Regions from separate parts of the Homo sapiens genome. Here regions 2, 3, 4 and 5 are each linked to region 1. Evidence: promoter capture Hi-C in 16 types of primary human blood cells and fetal thymus (Javierre and others, 2016). All regions are on one chromosome and are shown on one strand. Each heading gives the region's core, a stretch centred on a gene start or on the middle of the fragment in contact. The rest is flanking DNA. Distances are from core to core; before and after follow the strand shown. Region 1 holds the start of PRSS35 (serine protease 35). Region 2 overlaps ME1 (malic enzyme 1). Region 3 overlaps ME1 (malic enzyme 1). Region 4 overlaps ME1 (malic enzyme 1). Region 5 overlaps ME1 (malic enzyme 1).

Region 1 (2,700 bases), core at 109-2,608:
AAGATGCATATGACTATTATGATCTAATTGGTGACAGAGAGCTTCAGAACTAATTCTAACTGGTAAAAATTACCAATAGATTTTAATATATGGGTAAATGCTTATGTTAACAATGCTAAATGAGAAAACAGCAATGAAATTGTATATATAGTTGGCCCTTGGACACATATTTGAACTGCACAGGTCCACTTATACACAGATTTTTTTTTTCACCCAAAAGCGGATAGAAAACAGTATTTTCAGGCAGAAATGCTTAAACAGAGGGCAGACTTTTCCTATACGCGGGTTCCCCAGGGCCCACAGCTGGACTTGGACTTGAATATGGGATGATTTTAGTATGGGGGGGCGGAGGGGAAGAGGGCCTGGAACTAGTCCGTTGAGTATAACGAGGGACAATGCTAAGTATGTTATAATCTCATTAAAAGTACACAGAACTTGAGATACGCAATAACCTACTAACGAACCAAGTGTTACAAGACATGCTAAGACCTTGTGTTGTAAGTACTTGTGCACTTACTCGATCTCCCTGCTTTAGGGCCAGGACCGAGTTTTTTTGTTTTTGTTTTTGTTTTTGTTTATGTATTCTCTCGTTGTATCAGTTCATCTTGCCCCAGACCTGTCACCCACTAGAATTTGTTGTTAAACAAATGAAGCTTCCTTTCTCATGTGGCCCCCACCCCTCTCCTAAAGGAGAATAAAAGGTCGAGAGAACGGATGAGGTTAGAATGCTGGTGGGACTGAGATGGGAAAGGACCTTAAAGGTTACTCGCCCAAAGAGGAAAACCAGCCTTTTCCCTGCAGACGGAAACTGACGCGCTCCCCCTGGAGGCAGCGCAGGATGCTCCCGGGGGTCCAGGCGTCCCAGCCTGAGGTCCCCATCCTCGTGTGCAGCCTGGGCGCCTGGTACAAGTCGGGGTAACCCTGAGGCTTGTGCATCCAGAGAAGCTAGGTCCCCGGTGGAGACTAGCTTGGGATAAGGTTGGGGAGACGCCCTCCGTTCTTCTAGATGCCTGGGGTCTCAACAGCAAGCAGTGAGGAATGAGACTCTTAACTGAACAACTCCTGAGACTGTTAAAGGAGTGCATACTATTACAGGGACAGGCATCCCCTGTGAACCTACTCATGAATTTTTCCTAATGCTTAATTCAGCTTGGGGGCAGAAATGCTGGGGTGAGACACGGCCAGGTCCGCCCCGTTCCTCCAGGGAACTCCCCTCTCCGCCCTCCCTCTCCGTCTCCTCTTGCCCACCTCCTCCTCCTCCCCTCCCCCCACTCCATCCCACCGCGCCCGCCCCTCGTCATCGCCCCCTTTCCCCTCCCATCTCCCGGCCGTGGTGCGGCGCAGCTCTCTCCCCCTCCGCAGTCTCAGTGGCGAGCTCTGGGTGCTGTGGCCCGGCCTTGGCGGGGCGGCCTCCGGCTCAGGCTGGCTGAGAGGCTCCCAGCTGCAGCGTCCCCGCCCGCCTCCTCGGGAGCTCTGATCTCAGCTGACAGTGCCCTCGGGGACCAAACAAGCCTGGCAGGTAAAGATGAAGCTCCCCAAACCCAACAACCTTAGAACTTAGAAATTTCCCTGAGAAAGGCAGGACCTACCCGAGGAGAGCTTCTTTGAAGGACTTTGAAGAAAGGGATCAAACTTGACACTTTCTTTCAGTCCTCAAAGAAACTAACCACCCTTCCCATAGGCAATTCTGTGTGCCGGCCTCTGCACAGTTTAATATTAACGACAACAATGTTTGCATTGGAATATAAATGGAATTCTTTCTGCTTAAGCAGTACCAGAGGGGACCCTCTTTATTTTTATGATTGTTAACAGATGCCATTGAGAAAGGTATGAAACGCATTCCTGAAAAGTCTCTTTGGCGGGGTTACTATGAAAGCTAGCCTCTCCCCTCTACCCTTTTATCAACTTGGCTGCGGAGGTCAGCAAAAGGAGCATAGGAAAACGTTTAGAAAATGAGGCGGCGAAATGAAGTAGAAAAGCTTTTGACTTGCTTTGAAATACTCTAGCTGAAAAAAAAAAGTGTGTGGGGTGGTGATGGTGGATGAAACATTGGCAAAATATTGACAATAGTTGAAGCTGGTGATGTGCACATGGGGGTTGTACTTTTCTCTCAACTTAATACTTTTCTCTGTGCTTTTGTGTAGTCTTGAAATTTTCTATAATAAAAGGTTTTTTAAAAAGTTGTAGAAACACTCCCGCTTGATTGCTCTGACATTTTTACACTGTCCTTGATTTGAAAAGAAGCTGCTTGCTGTGTCTAGGGGGCTTTCACCCCTTATTAACCCTTCTGACTTCTGAAATTCATTCTTATTTTATCCGAAGTACATTTGTCTCCACAGAGGATTATAAAAGTCATATTTTGCTGGCTGGAGAATTATACTTAGAATCTGGTTTATAATTTAGAAGAGAGAATGTTAAAATCCCTGCCAAATAAGACATGTAGGCTTGAAGGTAGAGGCCAAGTATCATATGGAATTTTATTTTTATTAGGAAATATTAGAGGAGTTCCTTTAGTGAGGGAAGTGGTAGATGTGGATACTGTACCCCATTTTTCTTCCAGATAGCTGGGAAAACTGCATGCTTTTAAGAAGCTTTTTCACGTTTTAAAATGTGAGACTGTTTAGCATATACTTGGCATACAGTATGTGTTCATTAGATGTTAAAATAAGCAATTGCTAGTGTGAGTTAATTTTCTCCATT
Region 2 (2,700 bases), core at 80-2,579, 230 kb before region 1:
TGTCTTGACAAAAAAAATTTTAAAGGTCATAGAACGATCTTAATTTTTATTATTGGTTATTAAGATAACCTAATAATCACAGTTTCAGCTTCCCTGGTCACTTAGAATTATCACTGATTTACTTACAAAAAGTTCTGTCACTGATAACAAATTGTTATAAGAAAGAGACAAATAACTTATATGCTACACTACAGTTCCCTAGCTCTGCAATAAACTGTTAAGTGGTTAAGATTTTAAAACTGAATTTTAGCATATTGTCTTAAGACAGACAGCCATCTGTATTGAAGTAAACTGCATCCCACCTCAAAGAAATATTTAACAATTGATGAATGTATAAGATGGCATTTCTTTAGAAGAAAAAACAGCAATAAACATTCTCTTAAATAAAACTTTTAATATATTTTGTGAACCAAACAAAACAAGCCTGGGTACTTACATATCCATTATATTGTCTTTTATAAAGAGAATATTTACATTCTCATATTCACTGTCTATAAGTTGTGTAATGCTGACTCCTTAACTACACAACTTCTTTTATAACATGAAACTCAATGCCTTTTGAATCTGGGTATAAATTCCTCAGCAGGCCTAGCCTCAGCACCCCCAGTTTAATTAGAACTAACCAGTAACTCTACATTAGCAGAAAACACAACTGAAAACCAATGTCCACTACAAGTATGTTGGCTCTGTGTCATGGACAGCCACAGGCCAAGGAAGACGAGACTCAGGATTATGGCAGAATAGTTAGAATACCATATTATTTAAGGTAACAAAACATGGGGAAAGGATTCATACAGTACATTCTAATCTATATCTTAGATTATCAAACTAAAACTAAGAACAAAAATAAGATTTGGGGCCAGGTGTGGTGGTTTACGCCTGTAATCCCAGCACTTTGGGAGGCTGAGGCAGGCAGATCACTTGAGGTCAGGAGTTCGAGGCCAGCCTGGCCAACATGGTGAAACCCCGTCACTACCAAAAATACAAAAATTATCCTAGCGTGGTGGCACATGGCTGTAATCGCAGCTACACGGGAGGCTGAGGCAGGAGAATCGCTTGAACCTGGGAGGTAGAGGTTGCAGTGAGCTGAGATCGCACCATTGCACTCCAGCTTGGGCGATAGTGAGACTGTATCTCAAAATAATAATAATAATAATAATAATAATATTTGGAATTCAACACAGTGTGCCAGAAAGCTTGCTTATCTTCTTGGACCTCCTGCCATTTGAACCCTAGAATTCTGAATCTAGGGTCAGAGTTTCTGGTTCTTACATGTAAAGAGCTTGGAAACTGTTACTCCCATCTCACAAGAAAAATGCTGAACAAACTACACGTTAACAACTCAATCCATCATGATGCATTAGGTTGCCCCCAAAACTAGAAAGACAGGCAAATACAGAGAATCATGGCTTTGAGTAGAAGCCCAGGAGCAGAACCGTGCAGCAAGAGCCAGTATCAGCAGCAAAGCTTTAAACTGTAATTAATGAATTGCTGGAGACTCAGTGTATACTAACTTGCAAATTAAAAACTACTAGGAGGTCCAGTCTTATGGGGGCCTCCACACTTTCATAAGTTTTATCTCCAGGAGCTTCATTAGGTTTTGACTGAAGATTTGAGGAAAAGTCCCCCTTGTGCTTCCAGCAAGCGGGGAGAGAATAGTAACCATTTAAAAAATTTGATTGTTTATTTTATTTTTAGAGAGGAGCTCTTGCTCTGTCGCCCAGGCTAGAGTGCAGGGGCACAGTCATAGCTCACTGTAACCTAGAACTCCTGGGCTCAAGTGATCCTCCTGTCTCAGCCTCTCAACTAACTGTGATTATGGATGCTTGCCACCACGCCTGGTGCCTGACTAGAGTCTTTTTTTTTTTAATTTCTTGTAGATATGAGGGTCCTCCTACATTGCCCAGGCTGGTCTTGAACTCCTGGGCTCAGGCAATCCTCCCACCTCAGCCTCCAAAAGCACCAGAATTACAGGCATGAGCCACTATGCCAAGCCTATTTATCATTTTTTAAAATGCCAGAGCATTCTGTTCTTCTTAATAGGACTTACCCTCAAGAGAAACTATTTTACCAGATCCTAACTTAATGGGGTTCACCAAAGCCTACCTAAACTGGGGGAAGGGAAATATCCAACTACAGTCCTCCCTGGGCTTTCAAATGGAGGAAAGAAAATACTCAAAACTCAGGCTCACTAAAAAACTGACAGCCAATCATAGGACTATAGTAAACAACCCCTTCCCCCCCAACCCTATCACTGCCCCAACAGGGCTCTGGTATAATAACAGCAGATTACAGCTAAAACAAATTCTAGCCTCAAAGTCTATTTAAGGAGACGCTGGAAAAATCCAAAGACAAGAGGTTAGACAAAAACAATGACACTGAAGAACTTTTAGCCTCTAATACTACAGCTACAGCAAACATCAAACACAGCTTAACTCCTAGCCAGATAAACAAAACCCAGCATATTAAAGGCATATCTCCCTAAGTTCCTTTTACCCCATATAGCAGGTCTAATTGTCAACAAAATTACAAGGCATCCTAAAAGGCAAGAAATATAGTCGGAAAACACAAAGCAAGCATCAGAATGAGATTCAGATATAGTGGAAATTTTGGAATAAACAGACTGGGAATTTGAAATAACTATGATTAATATGCTAAGTGATCTAAGCAGAGCAATAGAAACTCTAAGAATCGAAAGGT
Region 3 (2,700 bases), core at 187-2,686, 210 kb before region 1:
AATTATTTAACTTGCCAATTGTCTCTTGAGCTCTTTATGAAATAAACTTTGGGTAGCAAGGGAAAGCTAAAGCTTACTGAAGTTTATTAAAGTTGTTTTGTTATGCAAAACAAAATAATTTACAATGTTGAATGAGAAGTTTATTCCTCTGGGTCAAATATATTGTGATGATCAATTTCAACTGACTCATAATGATCACAAGCATGGCTGAATCACTGAATTTTATGAAACAACCAGTCCTGAATGTTGAAACAAAATACGATTTTTTTTTTACCACTTTCATAGAATCCTAAAGTTGGAACACTTTAGAAACATTTAATTCTAATCCATCATCTCACATAAAAGTAGAAATCTTTATATCTTTAAGCACATCTGTCCATGTTCTCAGAGTGATGGAGAGTTCACAAATAATATTAACAACAGAAACAATAAGGAATAACAACCTCTGAGTAATTTTTATGTGCAAGTACTTTTATATACATTATTTTCTTTGGGGACAATTCCAACTATTAAATGCTCTATTTAATATTAAGCCAAATTTGCCAGCCTACATCTTTTAACTAAATTATGGTCCTAGTAATCCTTCCTGAAAAATAAAAATTATAGTTACTATTTATAGCACTTGATAAAAGTAATTTGTTTTATATGTTTTCTCTCAATCATCATAACAACTGTCTGAAGGTACTACTGAAGGTACTATTAGCATTTTACCCCAATTTACAGGCAAGAAAATTAAGCCTTGAGGAAGGTAAGTAATTTTTCCAAGGTTACAAATGTAGTAGTTGGTGGAGCTGAGGATTGACTCCAAAGTGCAAGTTTTACTTATCACATGTACCTGAGATATGAGCTTTGCAAGCTGTCAAAATTAGATTTCTAAACTTCCTGAGCTGAGAGTCAGGCTCCAAACCATGGTAAATTAACTGAATTAAGAAATGTCATTCTATGACACCTCTGAAGAAATGGACTGCAAACCTGTCCCAGGCAGCACCATTCCAACCTGTGCTCAGTAGGATGAGCCTTTCTTTCCATCTAAATTTCGACACATCTCAATCTAACAATATTGGTCAACAAAACTTTAACAATAGCTTATTTTGTTTTCTATTCACAAATGTGGCATTTTTACCATGTATATACAGAATATGATATTATTTTCATGAGGATATGAAAAAAGTGGGTCACCATCTGTGGATACCACAAAGAAAAACACTCTTGAGAATTAATCACTACATATTGGTAAAATAAAAAACATGGCACACTGTGTTAATTCTGGCTTGCTTTATAGTTAGTGAAATAAAAGTAACAGTCAAATCATGGAAAATTGAGTTAGCCAGAATGTGATCATCTTGGCAACAGGAATGATTATTTTGTTCTTACATTTTGATTATGGCAAATTTTATACAAATTTTGTTGTAGCTTTAAATAATGAGACTTTGACATATGTCAGCTCAAACAATATTTACTACCAACTTGCATTAAATGTCGTTAGATTACTCTATGTAACATGCTAACTTTAGAACTAACCTCTAATTCCTTGAGGGATAATCTGCTTCTGGGACCTGAGACAATCGGGTATTCATTACTTACCATGTGCTGATGGCTCTCCTTTCCATATAAAAATGATGCTAGTAATTCAATAAAAATAAGACATGTTTAAATGAAATAATTTTCTAGTAATGGTGAAAGATTTCTGCAAAACCACTCACATTGTCTTGTGTGGCCTCCCTTTAAGTATCTCAATTGAGTTCAACAAATATTTATTGTTTATCTACTCTGTGCCAAGCATTGATACAGGAAGGAACTTGTTCATAAAATGAACAAAGTAGATCCCTGTCCTTGACAGCATATCTTCTAGTGGAAGAAACACACAATAAGCATAAACATAATAAATGAATAATGGTAATAAGTGGTATTTTAAAAAAGGAAAAGTAGAGCAAAACAAGGGTGATCAGGAGAGCCAGGGTGGGGAGAAGATGGGACAGGTTTCAGTATTACATAGGGTAGTCAGGGTAAACCTCAAAAGAAGGTTAAGATTTGAGCTAATATATGAAAAAGATTAAGTTTTTAACCAAACACATTTCTGGGAGAAGAATATTTTAGACAGAGGGAAAAGCAAGTGAAAATATTCTAAGGAACATGCCTTGAGAGTTCAATGACAGTACAGGCAGCGTGGAGAATGTGGGTGCAGGAGAGTGAGCACATCATAGAGGTCAGGAAGGGGGCCACATCAGGGCTTGAGGGCCATTATAAGGACTTTGGCTTTCATTAACTGAAATGCACTGACTGTCAATACTAATGTTAGGTCCAGATACGATATTAGTTGCAATTAGGGTTTCAATTTCCTACAGAACCAAAAAAGTACCCTTAATTTCTGACCTTACCCCCAAATCAATTTTCTAAGTTTGCCTCTTTAATTATTCTTTTCCTTTCCGCATCTTTAATCTCTAATAATTAAAATATATGTACTTCATTCTAATATTGTTATAAGATTTCCCCAAACCAGCCACATAGATGGTCTTTCAAAAGGAAAAGTAAATTGCTTTCACATGTTCATACCTGCTTTACCTTTGTCTATAAACACACGTAAATTAAGGATGGCAAGAAAAAATATTATAAACAAAAGACCTTATTTTAACCTACAAGATATTGCTATTGATAGTGTTTTTTGTTTTGTTTTTAGGTTGATCTATAACTCAGGAAATC
Region 4 (2,700 bases), core at 52-2,551, 130 kb before region 1:
GTCAGGAGAATGACATAATTAGATATATCTTTTTGAAAATCCACTCCCTTTTGACAGTCTTCAAGGGTAAATATGCAGTAGTAGTCCAGGAAAGAAACAAGAAGAACCTAGCTAAAAAAAAGTGGCAATGGGGATTGAAAGGACAAAAGAGACTCAATAGATAATTAAGGGATACAATTTCTAATGCTCAAAAAGGGAAAGGAAGGGGAAAAAATCCTGATTATCTCTGAGGTGTTTGCTTTAGTAACTGAATGAATGATGTTGCACCTTACAATGTTAGAAAACCTGGGAGCCTGGGATGTTAGGCTGGGGAGTGGGTAAGTGGAAGTAGTTGTTTGCCATATTAAGATGAGCTACTTAGTAGTTGAAAATACGAGTAATAATCTTAGGAAAAGAAATCTAGGCTACAAATATTGACTTGGAAATTCTCCAATTACATGTGACTAAGAGAATATATAGAATAAAAAGAAAATAGAACCCAGAATAAAACCTTGGCAAGAACCAACATTTTAGTGGGTGGAATGGATCACTGCAGTTAGCTGAACAGATTAAGAAGGAAATAATTGAAGAAAGGAAATGTATTAGATATAGTTCATGGAAATAAAAAGCTGAACCAATGAATTCATGGGGAACATGGAGAGAAATATCTGAGATAAGGAGGATAAGGCTGCAGAGTGTTTACATTCTTGTAACTGCAAGAGTGAGATGAGCCAAAAACACAGCTGGAATGAAACACTGAGGAGCAGAAGGCCCAGCCGAAATTGAACTGTGCAGGCAGAATTATAGCACTCCACCCCCACATTAATAATATTTTAATTAAAAAATAGGTGCACAGAAATGAAATGAACAATACTTACTGGCTTCATAGAACATGATCTAATTGGCTCTTCTGGGAGGGCAAGAAAGGATTGGTTCAGGATGGATTTGTACAGTGAGTAAAGGACAAGATAGTGAGGTGATTGACTTGGGCTATAAATAAAATGAACTATATTAAGCCTGCAAGCTTAAGAAATTCTTTTTTTTTTTTTTTGAGACGGAGTCTCGCTCTGTTGCCCAGGCTGGAGTGCAGTGGTGCAATCTCAGCTTACTGCAAGCTTGAGAAAGTCTTATGTACAGGAGACCTTCTTATCTCCAGCTGATGTATTTAGAGTCTGTGTATATACCTACATGCTGTGTGTCCATATCCCTATCACCTCACCTACCTATAGCCATCAGTACAGGACTACAAGACTGTGGAATTATTCCCATGTGAACTGGTTGCTGCTATTGGCAACTCTGTTAGCTTACAGCTTTTCTTGATTTCCTTGCTCCATATCTTAAGAGGATCAAGTGCATTCAAAGCAATTAAGAATTGGAAAGGGATCCAATACTGCAAGTCTTCTTAGTGCCCTTTCCATTCCATTCTAGCTCTCATTTCTAATATTTTATCCACATGGCAGCCAGAGTAATCTTTTAAAACTTTAGTTAGATGCTGTCTACTTTGAATATTCAATGGCTTTTTAAATGGATTAAGCTTTATAATGAAACTCTATCATGACCCACACACCCTGCATGAGACTGCTGTCTACCTCAAACTTCATCTCATGCCACCTCCCCAGTCCCAGATCTTTTGAACAAGCTATCCCCTCAGGCTCAAAGGTTTTTATTTTTTCCTTTTTTTTTTCCCTGATTTTCACAAGCTGCTTCCTTATCCTTCAAGCGGCAGCCTAAACTATCTCCTTACAGGCACTTCCCTAACTATACTGTGAAAGGAAATCCCCTGTTATTGTTTATCATTGTCCTCTGTTCATTTCCTTCATAACACAAACAGTACTCATGTATTTCTTTGTTCACTTGAATATTACCTGTAAATTCCACAAATGCAGAAATTAAGTCTTTATTTACCTATTCTCAATGCTTGGTAAAGTGCCTGGCATGCAGTGGACGCTCAATAAATTTCTGGTAAAGGAAGGAAGGAGAAGGGAAATAATAAGCATAGTCAATAATTTAAAAGACTGTAAAGAAATGGCAAGGTTGGGAAGAAAAAGCAAGAATCTTCCGGAAGAATTGAATGGTCAATAATATTATCTGACAATTTCTAAAATTAGGTTTAAATGTTAAATTACTATAATTAATCCAGTCAGTATTAGGAACTTTTAAAAGTGAAACCATAGTAGAGCAATATTCCTAAGAAATATCTGCTAGAATTAAGCTCCTCTGAAAAGCAATATATGAAACTCTTCACAAGTAAACACTCCAGTATTTGAGAAAATAATCTTAATTAACAAACATAATACATCATTTTACCTTTTGAAAATCAGAACACATATTAATCAATAGGGAAAGGTCCAAGGAGCTACATGATAAGAGTGCTGCTTCTCTGAGCAACTCAGAGTAGAGTTGGAAAACATAATCAATCTAAGATAAGAAGACTCAAGATTGGTCTAGGAATATGTATTGGCTATTTTCATGTGTCAACCTAGCTAGGCATAGTACCCAGATGTTTGGTCAAACATTCTAAATGTTTCCATGAAGGTAGTTTTTAGATGATACTAATATTTAAATCAGTAGATTCTGAATAAAACAGATTACCTTCCACAATGTGTATGGGCCTCATCCAGTCAGCTGAAATCTTATTAAAAAAGACTGACCTCCCCCGAAAAAGAGGAAATTCTGCCAGCAGACTGTCTTCAGACTCAAACTGCAGATTTTAGACTTGCG
Region 5 (2,700 bases), core at 177-2,676, 250 kb before region 1:
TAAAATAAGGGTGTTATAATTTTATCATAAAACTATTAATAGCAAAACAGTATTTGTATGCATTCAACATACCAGGTCCTTTTATTATAGGAAATATATGAACAGATATTGGTGAGAACATGAATCTTTCTTTGATTATAACTGATCAAGAATTCACTGTAACCAGGTTAACCAAGCATGTTTTAATTTTTCCTGAGATATAGTAAAATGTTTTTATAGGATTTATTACATATGGAACATTCAAGATCTAGTGCACTTTAGCTCTGATGAGTACCTTAGGGATAACTTATTCCAAATTACCCATTTTTTATAATGTATTGAAGCTTGAGAGTGCTCAATGAATTAAGCAGCAAATAAGAAACATGGATCTTGCCCTGGAAATGCTCACTGGGAAAATAGTCTCATTGGGAAGACAAAAGGATGTAAGCAAATAACTTAAAGGAGGTTCAGATTAAAAGCAAAAGCAGTGGCACACTGATCACTAAAGGACTGAGGGAAAACAACATGAATTAGGTGAGACTTAAGATGGGCCCTTGGTAGAACTCAAATAAGGAAAAGAGTGGAGTAAAGAACCAATGATAGAATAGAGGTCTCAAAGTTTGTACTGGGGAGATGACAAATATTAGCTTCAAGGACTTTAGAAGATCAGTATTGGTTGCTGAATTTCAGATGATGAATGGTCTTGAATGCTAGAATAAGTAATCCGAAGTTGACACAAATTATCTCTGGCCAAGAACCATTCAAATTCAATTCTTCTTTGTAGGTAACAACGAAGAAGATGGATGTGTTAACTTCTTTCATAGCAATATGGCTTTTGCTCCTACTACTTTACTTCCATATTATTTTGTAACATTTAGACAGTCCTTTCATTTCTCTTACCACTCCTTTTATTATATTTTACTGTTACCTCTTAATTATTCTTTGTGACAGTAGAAATGATGAAGATTCAGCCATAATCATCCATTCTTTTCCCCCATATTCTCATCCCCTCAAGTTTCTTGTCTTCTTAAGGAATTGACAATCATGTTTTACACAAATTACTTCTAAATTTATATCTCTGCTGCTGATCTTTCAAAGAAACAACTCTGTTTCCAAAATGATACCAAGGACTTGAAGAAATTTTATACTATGAATCTTTTTTCTTTTAGAATGAGAGATAAATAATTAAAACAGTATTTCCAACCATTTTTATTTAGTATTTATTTCTCTAAAAGCATCTATAGAATCAAAAAATCACACAACATTTATAGCAAGGACCAAAAAAAAAAAGAATCACAAGCAAAATAGAATCACTATGTTTAGGTGTTGTCTGCTTTTCAAAAAAAATAGCAAACCTAAGAGATTCTGAGTTCCTTAAAATTCAACAAATTTTGAAGTTCGGTTTATAACTAAAGTGGCTATTTAGTATATTTTAATAAAAAGCATTTAAAAAATCCTCCTTGTCTCCAAAATTCATGAAACTTTTTCCCTTGTGATTTTAATTTTATTATTTTGTTGTTGTTTTTAAACTTTTATTTTAGGTTCAGGGGTACATATACAAGGTAGTTCTATAGGTAAATTCATGTTATGGGGGTTTGTTGTACAGATTATTTTATCACCTAGATGCTAAGCCTGGTACACAATAGTTACTTGTTCTGCTCCTCTTCCTCTTCTGATCCTCCACCCTCTGGGGTGGTGATGAGAACACATGGACACTAGGCCCCAGTGTCTGTTGTGCCCCTCTTTGTGTTCAAGTGTTCTCATCATTTTAACTCCCACTTATAAGTGAGAACACACAGTACTTGGTTTTCTGTTCTTGCATTAGTTTGCTAGGGATAATGGCCTCCAGCTCTCCAGCTCCATCCATGTTCCTGCAAAGGATGTGATCTCACTCTTTTTTATGGCTGCATAATATTCCATGGTGTATCAGTACCACATTTTCTTTATCCAGTGTATCACTGATGGGCATTTAGGTTGATTCCATGTCTTTGCTATTGTGAGTAGTGCTCCAATAAACAAAAAAAATGTGTGCATGCATCTTTGTGGTAAAATAATTTATATTCTTTTGGGTATATATCCACTAATGGGATTGCTGGGTCAAATGGTACTTCTGCTTTTATTTCTTTGAGGAATCTCCATACTGCTTCCACAATGGCTGAACTAATTTACACTCCCACCAGCTATGTATAAGCATTTCCTTTGCTCTGCACCCTTGCCAGGATCTGTTATTTTTTGACTTTTTAATAATAGCCATTCTGACTGGTATGACATGGTATCTCATTATGGTTTAGATTTGCATTTCTCTAATGATCAGTGATATTGAGCTTTTTTTCATATGCTTATTGGCCGTATGCATGTTCTTTTGAAAAGTGTCTCTTCATGTTCTTTGCCTACTTTTTAATGGGGTTGTTTTTTCTTGTAGATTTAAGTTCCTTAAAATTCTGGATACTAGAACTTTGTCAAATCCATAGTTTGCAAATATTTTCTCCCATTCTGTAGGTTCTTTGTTTACTCTGTTGGTAATTTTTTTTTTTTTTTTTTTGCTGTGGAAAAGCTTTTAGTTTAATTAGATCCCATTTGTACATTTTTGCTTTTGTTGTGATTGTTTTTGCCATCTTTGTCATGAAATCTTTGCCTGTTCCTATGTTCAGAGAGCCATTTCTCAGTAAAGCAAGGAGGTAAAGGGAACATCCAGTGAGGAAGTGAGGAGGTAAGGTAGCC

The links. The method cuts DNA at HindIII sites, captures the fragments that hold promoters and counts their contacts. A CHiCAGO score of 5 or more calls a contact.
Region 2: a contact is called between a fragment that was not itself captured here and the fragment with the promoter of PRSS35 in region 1, in 2 of 17 cell types (megakaryocytes and M1 macrophages). The highest score is 7.9, in megakaryocytes.
Region 3: a fragment that was not itself captured here is called in contact with the fragment with the promoter of PRSS35 in region 1 in 3 of 17 cell types (M2 macrophages, megakaryocytes and M1 macrophages); the score reaches 7.9 in M2 macrophages.
Region 4: a contact is called between a fragment that was not itself captured here and the fragment with the promoter of PRSS35 in region 1, in 1 of 17 cell types (M1 macrophages). The highest score is 5.1, in M1 macrophages.
Region 5: a contact is called between a fragment that was not itself captured here and the fragment with the promoter of PRSS35 in region 1, in 1 of 17 cell types (megakaryocytes). The highest score is 5.6, in megakaryocytes.

Annotation. Positions count from the first base shown.
Region 1 is chr6:83,511,176-83,513,875 of GRCh38, forward strand. PRSS35 (serine protease 35) reads left to right here and starts at 1,359. Exons shown (of 2, transcript NM_153362.3): 1 at 1,359-1,519. The HindIII fragment of the contact is 1,326 bases long and covers 652-1,977 here.
Region 2 is chr6:83,276,763-83,279,462 of GRCh38, forward strand. All of the region lies in intron 6 of ME1 (malic enzyme 1), which reads right to left. Among named protein-coding and RNA genes, the nearest start is that of RWDD2A, 85 kb to the left of the region's middle. The HindIII fragment of the contact is 271 bases long and covers 1,195-1,465 here.
Region 3 is chr6:83,303,432-83,306,131 of GRCh38, forward strand. The region is part of intron 6 of ME1 (malic enzyme 1); the gene reads right to left. Among named protein-coding and RNA genes, the nearest start is that of RWDD2A, 110 kb to the left of the region's middle. The HindIII fragment of the contact is 2,733 bases long and covers 71-2,700 here.
Region 4 is chr6:83,380,384-83,383,083 of GRCh38, forward strand. The region is part of intron 3 of ME1 (malic enzyme 1); the gene reads right to left. Among named protein-coding and RNA genes, the nearest start is that of ME1, 49 kb to the right of the region's middle. The HindIII fragment of the contact is 419 bases long and covers 1,093-1,511 here.
Region 5 is chr6:83,258,919-83,261,618 of GRCh38, forward strand. The region is part of intron 6 of ME1 (malic enzyme 1); the gene reads right to left. Among named protein-coding and RNA genes, the nearest start is that of RWDD2A, 67 kb to the left of the region's middle. The HindIII fragment of the contact is 2,210 bases long and covers 322-2,531 here.